Regions from separate parts of the Homo sapiens genome. Here regions 1 and 2 are each linked to region 3. Evidence: promoter capture Hi-C in 16 types of primary human blood cells and fetal thymus (Javierre and others, 2016). All regions are on one chromosome and are shown on one strand. The core of a region is centred on a gene start or on the middle of the fragment in contact, and the rest is flanking DNA. Distances in the headings are between cores, read along the strand shown.

What was found. Contacts are between HindIII fragments. The CHiCAGO score rates a contact against its expected background, and 5 or more counts as called.
Region 1: the fragment with the promoter of USP34 here is called in contact with the fragment with the promoter of WDPCP in region 3 in 1 of 17 cell types (monocytes); the score reaches 5.3 in monocytes.
Region 2: the fragment with the promoter of PAPOLG here is called in contact with the fragment with the promoter of WDPCP in region 3 in 2 of 17 cell types (total CD4 T cells and naive CD4 T cells); the score reaches 6.5 in total CD4 T cells.

Annotation. Positions count from the first base shown.
Region 1 is chr2:61,468,693-61,472,853 of GRCh38, reverse strand. USP34 (ubiquitin specific peptidase 34) reads left to right here and starts at 1,767. Exons shown (of 80, transcript NM_014709.4): 1 at 1,767-2,204. The coding sequence starts at 2,162. USP34-DT (USP34 divergent transcript) reads right to left here and starts at 1,758. Exons shown (of 3, transcript NR_185882.1): 1 at 1,475-1,758. RefSeq lists silencers at 1,516-1,825, 1,856-1,935, 2,026-2,445. The HindIII fragment of the contact is 6,929 bases long and covers 888-4,161 here.
Region 2 is chr2:60,754,408-60,758,496 of GRCh38, reverse strand. It overlaps PAPOLG (poly(A) polymerase gamma), which reads right to left and starts at 2,229. Exons shown (of 22, transcript NM_022894.4): 1 at 2,002-2,229. The coding sequence starts at 2,018. RefSeq lists an enhancer at 2,004-2,313. The HindIII fragment of the contact is 3,911 bases long and covers 1-2,676 here.
Region 3 is chr2:63,586,506-63,590,545 of GRCh38, reverse strand. WDPCP (WD repeat containing planar cell polarity effector) reads left to right here and starts at 2,069. Exons shown (of 18, transcript NM_015910.7): 1 at 2,069-2,349. The coding sequence starts at 2,275. It overlaps MDH1 (malate dehydrogenase 1), which reads right to left and starts at 1,583. Exons shown (of 9, transcript NM_005917.4): 1 at 1,500-1,583. The coding sequence starts at 1,502. RefSeq lists enhancers at 1,553-1,872, 2,384-2,904. The HindIII fragment of the contact is 5,833 bases long and covers 1-2,890 here.

The sequences.
Region 1 (4,161 bases), core at 518-3,017, 2.1 Mb after region 3:
CTCCCACTATGTTTCTCAGGATTGTTGCTTACCTTTTATCAGGAGGAACTCAATTATGTATGGCCAGCCCTAGAAAAGCCAGATCACCATGATGGTTGGTTTCAACTGCTACCTGAAAAAACGTGAGACCAGCACGTTGGCTCATACCTGTAATCCTAACATTTTGGGCCGGAGGATCAGTTGAGGCCAGGAGTTTGAGACCAGCCTGGGTAACATAGCAAGACCCTGTCCCTACTAAAAATAAAAAACAATTAGTTACGTGTGGTGGAGAGCGCCTGTAGCCCCAGCTACTAGGGAAGTGGGAGGATCCCTTGAGCCCATAAAGTGGAGGCTGTAGTGAACTGTGATCGCACCACTGCACTCTAACCTTGGCGACAGAGTGAGACTTTGTCTCAAAAAAAAAAAATTCAAATAAAAATAATTGGGGTTGTGTTGGCAGGGAAAAAAGGGATACGTGGGAATGTATGTTGAGTGGACAACGAATGTCTGCCTCAGGATCCAAAGTAAGTCTGCAAAAACCCAATTCTGTGAGAAAGACAAGGAAGAAGGGAAGATGATGGTAGAATAGAACTACAATCCTAAGGATCACCTGCTAGTGGGAAACAAAACGGGTTGGGCAGACTGTTTATAGTATCAACTTCAAGCAGCAGAAAGGCAAAGCATTTGGAACCAGGTGGTTCTGGCATGGAGAGATGGGCGTGCCATAACCTCCACAAAAGCTATCGAGAGAATGACTACAGAGCCTTGACAGACACTCTGGTTACCGTTCAGAGATTCTGTACACGATCTTTCGGACTTTGCAGTCACATGTCTATGTAAACACGTTGAACACAAAAATTAGCAAGCAAGGGGTAAGTGCCGGCGTGAGGAAAATTCCCTTACAAGCTTCAGCTGACTGCCCCCTTCACCTGTTCTTTATCTTAATATCCTTGTTATTCGCTCTCTGCTGAAGAAGATTTCTTGCTATTTCAGGTGGGGCTGATGGGCACATCGTGAGGGGCCCTCTTCCGTAAAAACGAGACGATGTCAGGCAAACACTCCTTACCCTGCCATTTCTAGTTACGTCAAGGATCTTACTGCTCCAGGACGGAGGACCTTCAAGGAACTGCAGGGTAGCGATAATCACCGATGCAGTTAAGCCGGGCCCTGGGCTGATTCACTCTCAGACCCCGGGGGGAGTGGCCCTTGCGCCCGAAAGAGGGCTACGGCGTAGACCCGGCCCGGCACCCAAGTTGACTCCTTGCTTCCCGTACCCCAAAAGCCTAAGCGCGGAAGAGGCCGGGGACACCAAAGAAACCCGCACCAACTCCCCGACCCAGGCCCTGGGGAAAAATGGCGAAGCCCAGGGGCGGGGGACAGGACGGAGCGAGTGACCTGGCGCTCCCCGGGCCTCAGAGCCCGTGGAGTGGGTCGTGGTGGGCGACGCCACGCAACCGCGACCCGTCCGTTGCCTCCGCCATCTTCTCCTACTCACCCGGACTCCCCCCGCGGCCGCGCTGGCTTCGCGTTTCCCTTCCGGCCGCTGACAGAGATCCGGGCTGGGCGGGGTGGGCGAGCGCGCGGAGGGGGTGGACCGAGGGCGGGGAGGCCGGACGGAAGAGGAAAGGGAGGGCGGCGAGCCGGCCACGGCGGGGTGTGGAGCGTGCGGCGTGTGTGCGGAGGGAGAGGTGGGGGGCGGAGGAGAGGCGAGAAAGGGAGGGAGGCGGAGGAATGAGAGCGCGAGGCGCCTCTCGTCCGCTCCTAAGCCCGGGCGGAAAGAGCCGAGCGCAGCCCGAGCGCTCTGTTAAAATGGCGGCGGCGTCGGCGGTGGCCGCGGCGTCTGGTCGGTGAAGTGACTCTGCTGCTTCTCTCCCCACCCGCCCCCTCCCCCCCTCTCCCCTCCCCCCGTCCTTCCCCCCCTTCCCCGCCGCCGGCGCCTCGGCGCCCCTCCGGCCTGCGCACCTCCCCTCGCTCCCCTCCTCTCCCCCTCCCGCTGCGGGGACCGCCGGCCCCCTCCCCCATTCTCTTGCTCCCCGCCCCGTCCCCGCCGCCGCCCGCCCTAGTCGCCTCCCCGCCCCGCCGGCCGGCCGGCCCCCTCCTCCGCCTCTCTCCCCTCCCCCCCGCCGGTCGGGATCAGTCAGTGTGATCCGAAGCGGGGGAGGGGGGGGGCGGCGGCCGAACGATGTGCGAGAACTGCGCAGACCTGGTGGAGGTGTTAAATGAAAGTAAGTAGCCGCGGTAGCGGCCTGTCGGGGTGCACGGTTTGGGGTCCTCGCGCAGCTCTCTGGCCTCCCCGGGCTGCCGCGGCCTGCGGGAGGCGACGGCCGGGCCGGGCGGCGTGCGGGCCTAGCGCCCCGGGAAGGTGCGCGGTGGCGCGGCCGCCGCGGCGCCTCGGGCCCAGCCCGGCCGGGTTACCTGGGCGCCCGAGAGGCGGCCGCCGCGGAGCTCCGGCTCGGCCTGGCCCGGGCGCTCTGGGCTCTCGGAAAGTTTCCTCATTACAGGTGTCAATTAATGAAGGCAGTAATGAACCCCTCGCCGCCTTCGCCTCCTTCGCCCTGCCGGGAAGGTGCGGGGAGGTGGGGTCGGAGGACGAGGCTTTCCTCCGCAGTCCAAATCCTCCGGCCGCCCTCTTTGATTTCCAGCGTGCTGCCGAGGCCTCTCTTACCTGCTAATTTTCATTAAACTCCCGGGAGCAGGGTGGTGGTTTTTCCCTCCCTTGCGGGTTTGTGGGTGTCTTAAACACTTCAGCCAGACCTTAAATAGCTGAAAACGAACTGTGATAGTGATGATTGGAACCTTCATACCTATTTTTAAAATAAATTTGTTAATGATGTTTCTTAGTGTAGCATTCACCGCTTTAATGGTACATTCTGTTAAGCAGAGCACTGTACTACACATACCATCCCGGGATAGTTATGGCCTATCTCTCTTGGAAGGAAAGGCCTTTTACCTGGTACTTTACTTTTTATTATTAAAAAGGGTACGTTGATCTTTTCTGGCCTTTTTATTTTATTCTCGACCCTTGCAAGATGGTATTTCAGCTTATAGAAGATATATTGCAAATCAACTACTTCTGGGCGTAAAGGCCTAGTTGGCAGAGGTGAATTAGATGAAGGGATCAATTTACAAAAAGTTGATTGTTGAAAAAATGCTCACTTATGAACAGTTTATGTGGGTTTTGGATTTGTATTCTGTTTGTGATATTTCCACAGACTTTCAGACTATCTAATTTTGTAATACAATTCGCTAAAACAGTTGATTTATAAAATGTACCATGGTATTTGTGTTTGACTGTCACTTTAATGACCAAAGACAATAATAAAAGTGGAAGGGTTCTAACTTAATTTCAACTCCGTATTTACTTCCTGATAGGTGGAATAGGCTTTTGCACATATTCCAACTAGAGGTTCCAGTATTTGTGTCACCCTAAATTATCCTAGAATTTTAAGATTATTTGTGTGTATTTTGAGATACTTTTATTTCTGGCGCAGGCGGTTTACGATATGATAAACTTAAATCCTCAATACTTACTGTGTTTTATATCTCACATACAAGTCGTGTGATTATGATTGTTACGCTCAACTTGGAAAGTTAATCGTTTTGCAATGTAATATGAGGAACAAGTACTTAATTTTGTTGGTGATTTTAAATATCTTTTTTTTTTCTTGAGACAGAGTTTTGCTCTTGTTGCCCAAGCTGGAGGGCAATGGCATGATCTCGGCTCACTGCAAACTCTGCCTCCCAGGTTCAAGCGATTCTCCTGCCTCAGCCTCCCAAGTAGCTGGAAATGTAGGTTCCCCACACCATGCCCGGCTGATTTTTGTATTTTTGGTAGAGACGGGGTTTCACCATGTTGGTCAGGCTGGTCTTGAGCTCCTGACCTTGTGATCCGCCTGCCTCGGCCTCCCAAAGTGCTGGGATTACAGGCGTGAGCCACTGCGCCTGGCTGATTTTAAAATATCTTAAACTTGGAAAATTTTAAACAAAACATCTAAAGAAAGTAAAGTTGGTTTATCTTTTGAAAAGAGGTGGCATCTTGATCATAATGAAAGGTCTTATTTAAGATTATCTGGGAAACCCCTAGAACTTTGGTTAGAAGCACTGAAAAATGCAGTGCATTTATGGAGTGTTAGAAATGTGGAGAATTGAAATAGAATTTAGCTTTTATTACCTTTAAGCAAA
Region 2 (4,089 bases), core at 980-3,479, 2.8 Mb after region 3:
AAGATCGCGCCACCACACTCCAGCCTGGGCAACAAGAGCGAAACTCCGTCTCAAAAAAAAAAAAAAAAAAAAAATCTCATTAGGCAGAGAGGGAGAAAGAATCAAATGGAAGATAAAATAGCCTGTATACCTTCCAAAATGACTCAAAAAAAAAAAAAAAAAAAAAAACCCCAGAAACCAAAATACTGGTTAATTTATCTTCTGTATTTATTTTGTTGTAGAACAAACAAAACTTCAATTAGTTATTTCAAGTGGTAATTTCTTTTTAAAGATTTGGCTTTTTACCTCTGAGAAAGCTAGAGCAGTGTTTTGGTATTGTTTGTGTAATACATATGTAAATATATACGGTAAGTGAATAGGACAGAGTAATTATCTACATATCTATATAGTATCACTCAATCGCAATAATCCTAAGGGGTATTGAATAAGTGCCATTTTACAGATAAGTACCTGAAAGTCAAAGAGAGGACAAGCCAGAATCTGAACTCCAAAACCTCTTTCCACTACTCCATTCTCTCCTCTCTAACTACTTCAGCTCTGACACCATGATGACGGGCCTCACTTTTTTACCTGTATGCTGACAAAGTTGGCCAACTAGCCTACTGGCCCTAAAATTCCAAATCCAGGTTCTGAACTTCCCCCATCTAGAGGGGAGGGGAAAGTAAACAACAGAATCCCACATTCCCTTCAAACCATCAATTTCACTTACAGGCAAACAACCTAGAGAAATTCTAGTTACAAGCGTACAAAGAGACACCTAAAAGAACGTTCACTGTCACATTGTAACATTAAAAACTTAGAAATAAAATAGTCACTAACAGGAAAAGAATTAAATTAGGGTGTTTTCCTACAATAGAATACAATACAATAATTAATATTAATTAATTACAACTAAAATACTAACATGAACAAAGCTCAGAGATACTATGTTGTGCTAAAGAAGTTACAGAATTCCAAGTGTGATACGAGTTATATAAAGTTTAAAAACAACTAGAACTATGCCAGTTATTATGAACACATGTGTATGTAGTAATAGCATTAAAAAACATGCAGCTCCCATGATTCGAGGGCGGAAAAAAAAGAAGTAAAATAAAAAACAGGCAGCAACGATAAACATCAAATTCAAGACTGTGGAGACATCTGGAGCAAGAGATGATTGGGACCAGAGAAGGAGGTAGGAGAGTCCTTCAGATGTATCTGGAATGCTTGATTTCTTTTTAAAATAAATACACAGATACGTATATACACACCGTGTGTGTGCGTGTGTGCATGTACGTGTATGTGTGTACAGTTACGTTTTGGGAGAAATGGGTGGTGGCTCCACAAATGATGCTTATGTTATTCTCTACATTTTTCTGCATGTTTAAATTATTTCCTAATAGACCAAAATGGAAGAAGCTACAACAAAATCTTGCCAAGTACGGGAACTGTTTCTGACTTATCAAAGTGTGAACAAGAGGTACAGACCGGTAGATGTTGTGGGTAGGTGGGGAAGCAGGGGGTGAGGGAGAGGGTGGGGACGGCGGTGAAAAGACTGTAGCCTCATATGAAAGAGAAACCCTTGGGCTGCGATAGGTCTTTCACTCCTGAAGACCTGGAGACAGCCGGTCGGGAAGGGAGGAGGGGGAGGCAGGGGGATGGTATTTGCGCCAATGCAGACAGGAGCAGACGGGCTCAGACAGTGCTGGGGGCAGGCGAGTGACCGACAATTTCTCCCTACGGACACAGGCACCTCTTTCCCTCCTCATCCTTTTCTGAGGGCGTCCTCGGAGGCGGGACAGCTGGGGACTCCCGGAGTCCCCGAGTCCGTGCAGGGGTGGCCAGGTGAGCCGCCGGGTTTAGGGGAGGTGCCCTTGCGGACCGGCCGGGAGCCGGGAAGGAGACCATCCCGGCGAGCTGCGTGCAGGGCGCAAGGGACAGGGAACGGAAACAAGGACACAGTCGGACCACCTCAGCTCACCCCTACCCGCCTCACCCCAACCGCCGCCCCCCACCACTTACGCAGACATCTCTTTCATCGCTTCCTGCGTCTCCCTCTCCAGCGAGTGTTTATCGCTCTGGAGTCCTGTTCTTGCTGTTCCCTTCTCCCCCTGTTCACTTTCCTCCGGTCGCTAGTAGCTCGCTTGCTCGCTCACTTTCCCACTTACTATGGCTGAGGCATCCAACCGAGTAGTGAAAACACCACAAAACCGGCTCTATTTATGACAATACAGCGCGGCCGACGCCAATATGGCGCCGCTTCCCAGCCTGCCTCTCGCAGGTCTCAGCCCCGCCCCTGGAGGTCTGGACCACCCTCAGCCACGCCCCCTCTGCCTTTAGGTCCCGGGAGGCTCCGGGGCCCCGCCCACAAGCTCAGGGCTCTCAGTATACCGTTGGTTCGAAGGAGTATTTATTTGGTACTCTCCTTTGTCCGCGGTACTGTCAATGCCGGTAGACCGCTTGGAAGGAAATTTGGAGATATGTTTTCCTTGCCTCTCGAATGGCAGCATATATCATACATTTTTTAAAAAGGTCACACCCTTGCCTAGCAAAAACTATTTCAACGCCTCCGTTATCCTACATCTTTGATTTAATTATAGTTATACATAATTAACTCACCAGTTGAGATTTTGTCTCGAAAGGGTCACACCCAGGAACATACGACTTTCACACAAGTATCCCAGGGAAAAACAAGCTTGTAAATTGGAGGCTTAACTGTTCACTTCACCCCTAAGTACCACCTTTGATTAGTGACATTCTGGCATTTAGCTGACAGAGGTTGAAAATAGTAGCTAGCAGTTTGCAATAGGATAAATCCCAGGCTGAAACAAAAATCTTACACTTTTAAATAGTGGAAATCATGTTCGATGTGAGTGTGGGGATGAAAATGAGAAAATAATAACCAATTTTAAAATGCTGAAAGGTAGAAGTAATTTCAAGCACTAAATCATTACAAAGAAAAGGAAGTCAAGAACTGCTTGCTCTTGAACATAACTCAGAGTCACAGTAAATAGAGGAGATTACTTGCTGATTAATTCATTAAAAAATATTTATTGAGGCAAGATACAGTGGCTCACACCTGTAATCCCAGCACTTTGGGAGGCCAAGGTGGGAGAATTGCTTGAGGCCAGGAGTTCGAGAACAGCCTGGGCAACATAGTGAGACCCTGTCACTACAAAAAGTTTTAAAAAAATTAGCTGGGCATGGTGGCCCATGCCTGTAGTCCCAGCTACTCAGGAGGCTGGGGTGGGAGGATCTCTTTGAGTCCAGGACGTGGAGGCTGCAGGAAACCAGGATGGCACCACTGCATTCCAGCCAGAGTGATAGAAGGAGACCCTGTCTCAAAAAAATAAATAAATAAATAAATAAATAAAAACTACAAAACATATTTTTGAAAACCTGAGCAAGGTGCAGTGGCTCTTGCCTGCAATCCCAGTGCTTTGTGACGCCAAGGCTGGTGGATCACTTGAGGCCATGAGTTCTATTAAGACCAGCCTGGCCAACATGGCAAAAACCCATCTCTACTTAAAAGCAACAACAAAAACCTGACGTGGCCTGGTGTGGTGGATCACACCTGTAATCCTAACATTTTGGGAGGCTGAGGCGGGTGGATCACTTGAGGTCAGGAGTTCGAGACCAGCCTGGCCAACATGGTGAAACCCCATCTCTACTAAAAATAGAAAAACTAGCTGGGTGCGTGGTGCGCCTGTGATCCCGGCTACTCAGCAGGGTGAGGCAGGAGAATTGCGTGAACCCGAGAGGCAGAGGTTTTTTTGAGATGGAGTCTCGCTCTGTTGCCCAGGCTGGGGTGCAGTGGCGTGATCTCTGCTCAGCCTCCTGAGTAGGTGGGATTACAGGCATGCACCACCACGTCCAGCTATATTTTTGTATTTTTAGTACAGACGGGGTTTCACCATGTGGGCCAGCTAGTCTCAAACTCCTGACATCAGGTAATCCGCCCACCTCGGCTTCCCAAAGTGCTAGGATTACAGATGTGAGCCACCACACCCAGCCAAGCAGTGTTTTATTATTTATTTATTTATTTATTTTTGAGATGGAGTCTTGCTCTGTCACCTAGGCTGCAGCACAGTGGCATGATCTTGGCTCACT
Region 3 (4,040 bases), core at 820-3,319:
ATCTACATGCTGATAACATATTTGAGTTTGTATATGCAGTATGAACTGGTAACTTCATCCGGAATCTCAGCTAGTAAAAATAAGTTTTCAGGGAGTTGAGTACACTGTCTCTCCCCCGCTGCGAGACCTCACTGCGGTGGTCCCTATAAAAATAAAAATTCAGAAAGACTTGGTAAGTGTAAGACACAATATAGAAAAATGGCAAGAGTGTGAGACTCTTGGAGCAAATCACATTCTCTTTGGGTCTCGATAAACTCCATTTTAAGATCTGAAGTGGGGAGATTCGTCAAGATGACCTTTAAAAGATCCCATTCAGTTCTAAAAGCAAAAAGTCCAAGGTTATCAGATAATAAGTACCTCTGCTTTCTAGCTAAGGTTATTAGGACAGAAACTACCGAAACCATAATTTAAATGACTAATTATGTGACAAAACATTTAGGAAACCTAGGTTTAACACCTACTGGAAATTAGTAGCTGTCTCCACTGGCCCCGTTAGACAGGCAGAGAGAGTAATGCCCTTGCCTTGAAAACGTGTCTTTTCAGGTTCTGGGAAATTTCCAATTCATTCAAACATTTCTCCACATTCTCCAGCCGTTTTAGTATTTTGCAGATAAAGTAGGAAAAACAGTCGCAACTATAAATACAAGCCATTGTATTGATAGTATGAAGCGATTTCTCTGAGTTTGATGACAAATGTCACCTTCAAGCAGTACGCAGATTATTCCTACGCCAGAGTTCCTTCACCAACTCTCCCCCTCCCCCTCTCTTTCAGCAGAGACAAGCGATGGAGATGCAGGTTACCCAGGTCTTCCATGACAAAATGGTTACTCTGTTACATTTAAGAGAGGTGCTTCTGGAATTCACAATATACAGTTCAATAAAGAATATTTGCAGTAGTTATTTAGTTAGTGATGCTGTCACTTCAATATATCCTGGCATTACAAAAAAGGTCAATGAACGGGTTCCAAATAACATTTTGAGAAATTAGATATGGCGGAAACACGTCTGCTGCAAACGCAGATCGTAATCTGGAGCACCTGGTAAATACTACCTTTCCAGCTTTTTGCTTTCAAGGTCCCTGTGACAAAAGCCGTTATAAACACTGTGGGCAAATGAGGAGAAAAAGGGGTTAGGACCCAACCTTTCCCTCCCATCGCAAACCTTATCGTCCTTATCAAACACCGTAACGTCCTTTGGAAAATAGCTGCAGCGTCGCATTTTGTCCTCCCGTCATGCAGCAGGATTAAGATCGCTCCTCTCCCAGGACAACTACTTCTCCAGAGTCCTCCTAAGAGCGCCCCATACCCCGCAAGGTGGAAATCAATCCCTTCCCATTACTGGGTCACTGCGGCAATCCCCAGAAGATGAGTCCGAGCTTGCCAAAGGGCGCGAAGGACAGTGCCTTGCACAGCTGCCTCCCAAAAGTCCCTAAAGTGCAAGAAACCCCACTCAAGGGCGCGAGGGCCAGAGGTGGGCAGGAACCCGGGGCCCACACTCACCATGATTGAAAACTGCGGGGACAATTTCAACAACTGCAAAATGAGCCTCAGAGAGTCAGGTCACCTCTACCGCGGAACTGACTCGGAGAGGGCGAGCGGTGTTAGCGAGAAAAGGCTCCGCTCCCGACGCGGCGCTCTCTGGGAACTGTAGTTTACGCTGCCCTGGTTGTGGCGCAATCTCCAAAGCATTTCCTTCAAGTGTTGAACTACACTTCCCGATACCAGAGGTTTTTTTCAAGCTCTTCTCACTGCGCTCTGCGCCGATTGCAAAGTAGTCCCTGAGGATGAGCCCCTGTGATTGGAGGACGACAACAAACGGATGGTTTGGGCTCAGGAGGAAAGGACCTGCCTGATGGAGCCCGGCAATTGGCGGGAGAGATAGCGTGTGTAACTCTAGGGAGGGGAGAATCACCCCTTAGCGACATCACCCCCACGCGCGTGACTGAGACTGCATCCTCCCATGAGGGTAAACGTGGGAGGTAAAGAGACCTTCCGCTGCGTAAAGCTGGATCGACCCGGAAACAAAATCTTTTAAAAAACGATTGACACTCTGGAGGGGCGGGGGAATTGATAAGTTGGGACGACCGGACAGCTTCTCAGGTTGCTAAGCGACGAGGCGGGAGCGCACGCACACCCTGGCTGCTTTGTAGCACCTGAGGAAACTGTGGCGGCGGCGGCGGCGTCCTGGAGACCCAAGAGACCAAGCGAGCGTGTCGCTCCCTCTCGGGTCCGAGGACCTAGCCTAGGAACCTTCTGCCCGGGGTAGTGTCTGGTGATGAGGCGAGAGTTTTGCTGGGACGCCTACTCCAAAGCGGCCGGGAGTCGCGCTTCTTCCCCACTCCCGAGACAGGTGAGCCCTGGCCCGAGGGCAAGGGGTTTTCTTTTAACCTTAGGATCCGGAATGCGGTTGGTGCGCCGTCCCGCTTTGCTTTTATCCGCTGTGCGGATGCCTGCAAGCTCGCCGGTCCCTTTTCTGAGCGGAGTATGAGGGCTGTGGGAATGCAGCTATTTTGGAGGGGGTGGTGCCCTGGAGTAGGTGCACCCCCGACCCCAAATGGAGCTCTTCCAGAGTTATATCAAAAATATTTATTGAGCATTTACTTTGTAGGAGGTGAGCCTCTCCCTTCCAGGAGGTCACAGTATACGGTTCTAATTTGCTCTAAGCCCTCCGTGAATGTTGAGTTTTGTCCATTCCCTTTTGGAAGAAACAGGATGCGCCTTAAACCATCTTGAGTCTTAAAGTTATGCCAAACAGGCATTTCTAAGGAAAGACTGGCGACTGAAGGGGAGACACTGGTTGTTTAGTCAGTCAGTCTCAGCTGGTAAAACAACTTAAGAGGTTCTCTTTAAAATTAATGCTGCCAAGAGAATTGCTGTGCTTTTTGAAAGCTTGTTTCTTGTGGATGTTAAAAGGAAGATATGATGCTCGGGAGTAGCATACACAGCATATACGTAATGAAAATGAATAAAACATCTCTATTAGATAACATTGTTAGAACTTCCGTTTTTTCTCTGTCACTGATAAATGAATGCCAAGTAATATCTTTCAATTTTTCTCTATTTCAGTTTGGAGGATTTGCTATTTTTGGAAAGAAATGTAATGCTTTACTTTTAGCATTTATTAATATCATACCTGAATGACTCTCCTTGTATCTCTTTATTCATTTGGCTCTCAGACAACATACTTTCCTGGTTTTCCTCTTTTGTTACTGGTTCTCAGTTCTGCGGAGTTTCTAAATTTTTTTTAGTTGTGATCTCTTAACATTGGGGTGCCTGTATTCTCTGTCTATACTAAATCCCTCAGTGAGCTAATTCATAAGTTGCATCACTTCAAATGCTACTTTTAATGTCAAAAACTCTCAAATTTATGTGTCTAGTCCTGAATTAGTAGGTGTGCATTATTCTCAAACCTAGGTTCTCTGAGTTTTACTTTTTACTCTGAGCAGTTACGAAAAATTTCTTCCATTATCCTCCTAAATGAATTCTTCTACTAGCTGCTAACAGAAAGATTTTTCCATGTTGTTGTCCTTAAAAATATCATGATTTTACCTAATGTAAATGACGAGTTAATGGGTGCAGTACACCAACATGGCATGTATACGTACATATGTAACAAACTTGCACGTTGTGCACATGTACCCTAGAACTTAAAGTATAACAAAACAATCTCATGATTTTTGTCCTCGATTTACAGTGAATTTTACAAGGGAGACTTTTTATAACCAGAATTCTCACTGCAGTCCTATAGCAGGACAGGACATTCCCATACTCCAAGAAGGCCACAAACATGTAAGCCCCCGTATTCCCATCCAGTCCAGATATACAGAATTGAAGTCACCTGTGTGGTAGTTCACGGGCCTTGTTCTGTTTATTGCTAGTTGCCCTTGTAAATCAGGTTAAGGAGCATATTAGCACTGATTGTAAGTTACTTTTCTCAGGTAATATAATACACTGCAAGAGAAGATGTTTGGTAAGGTGGGTATATCAGCACATTTCCAATTATACTAATAAGATTGTCTGTGTTCTCTTCCTTTTGAACCG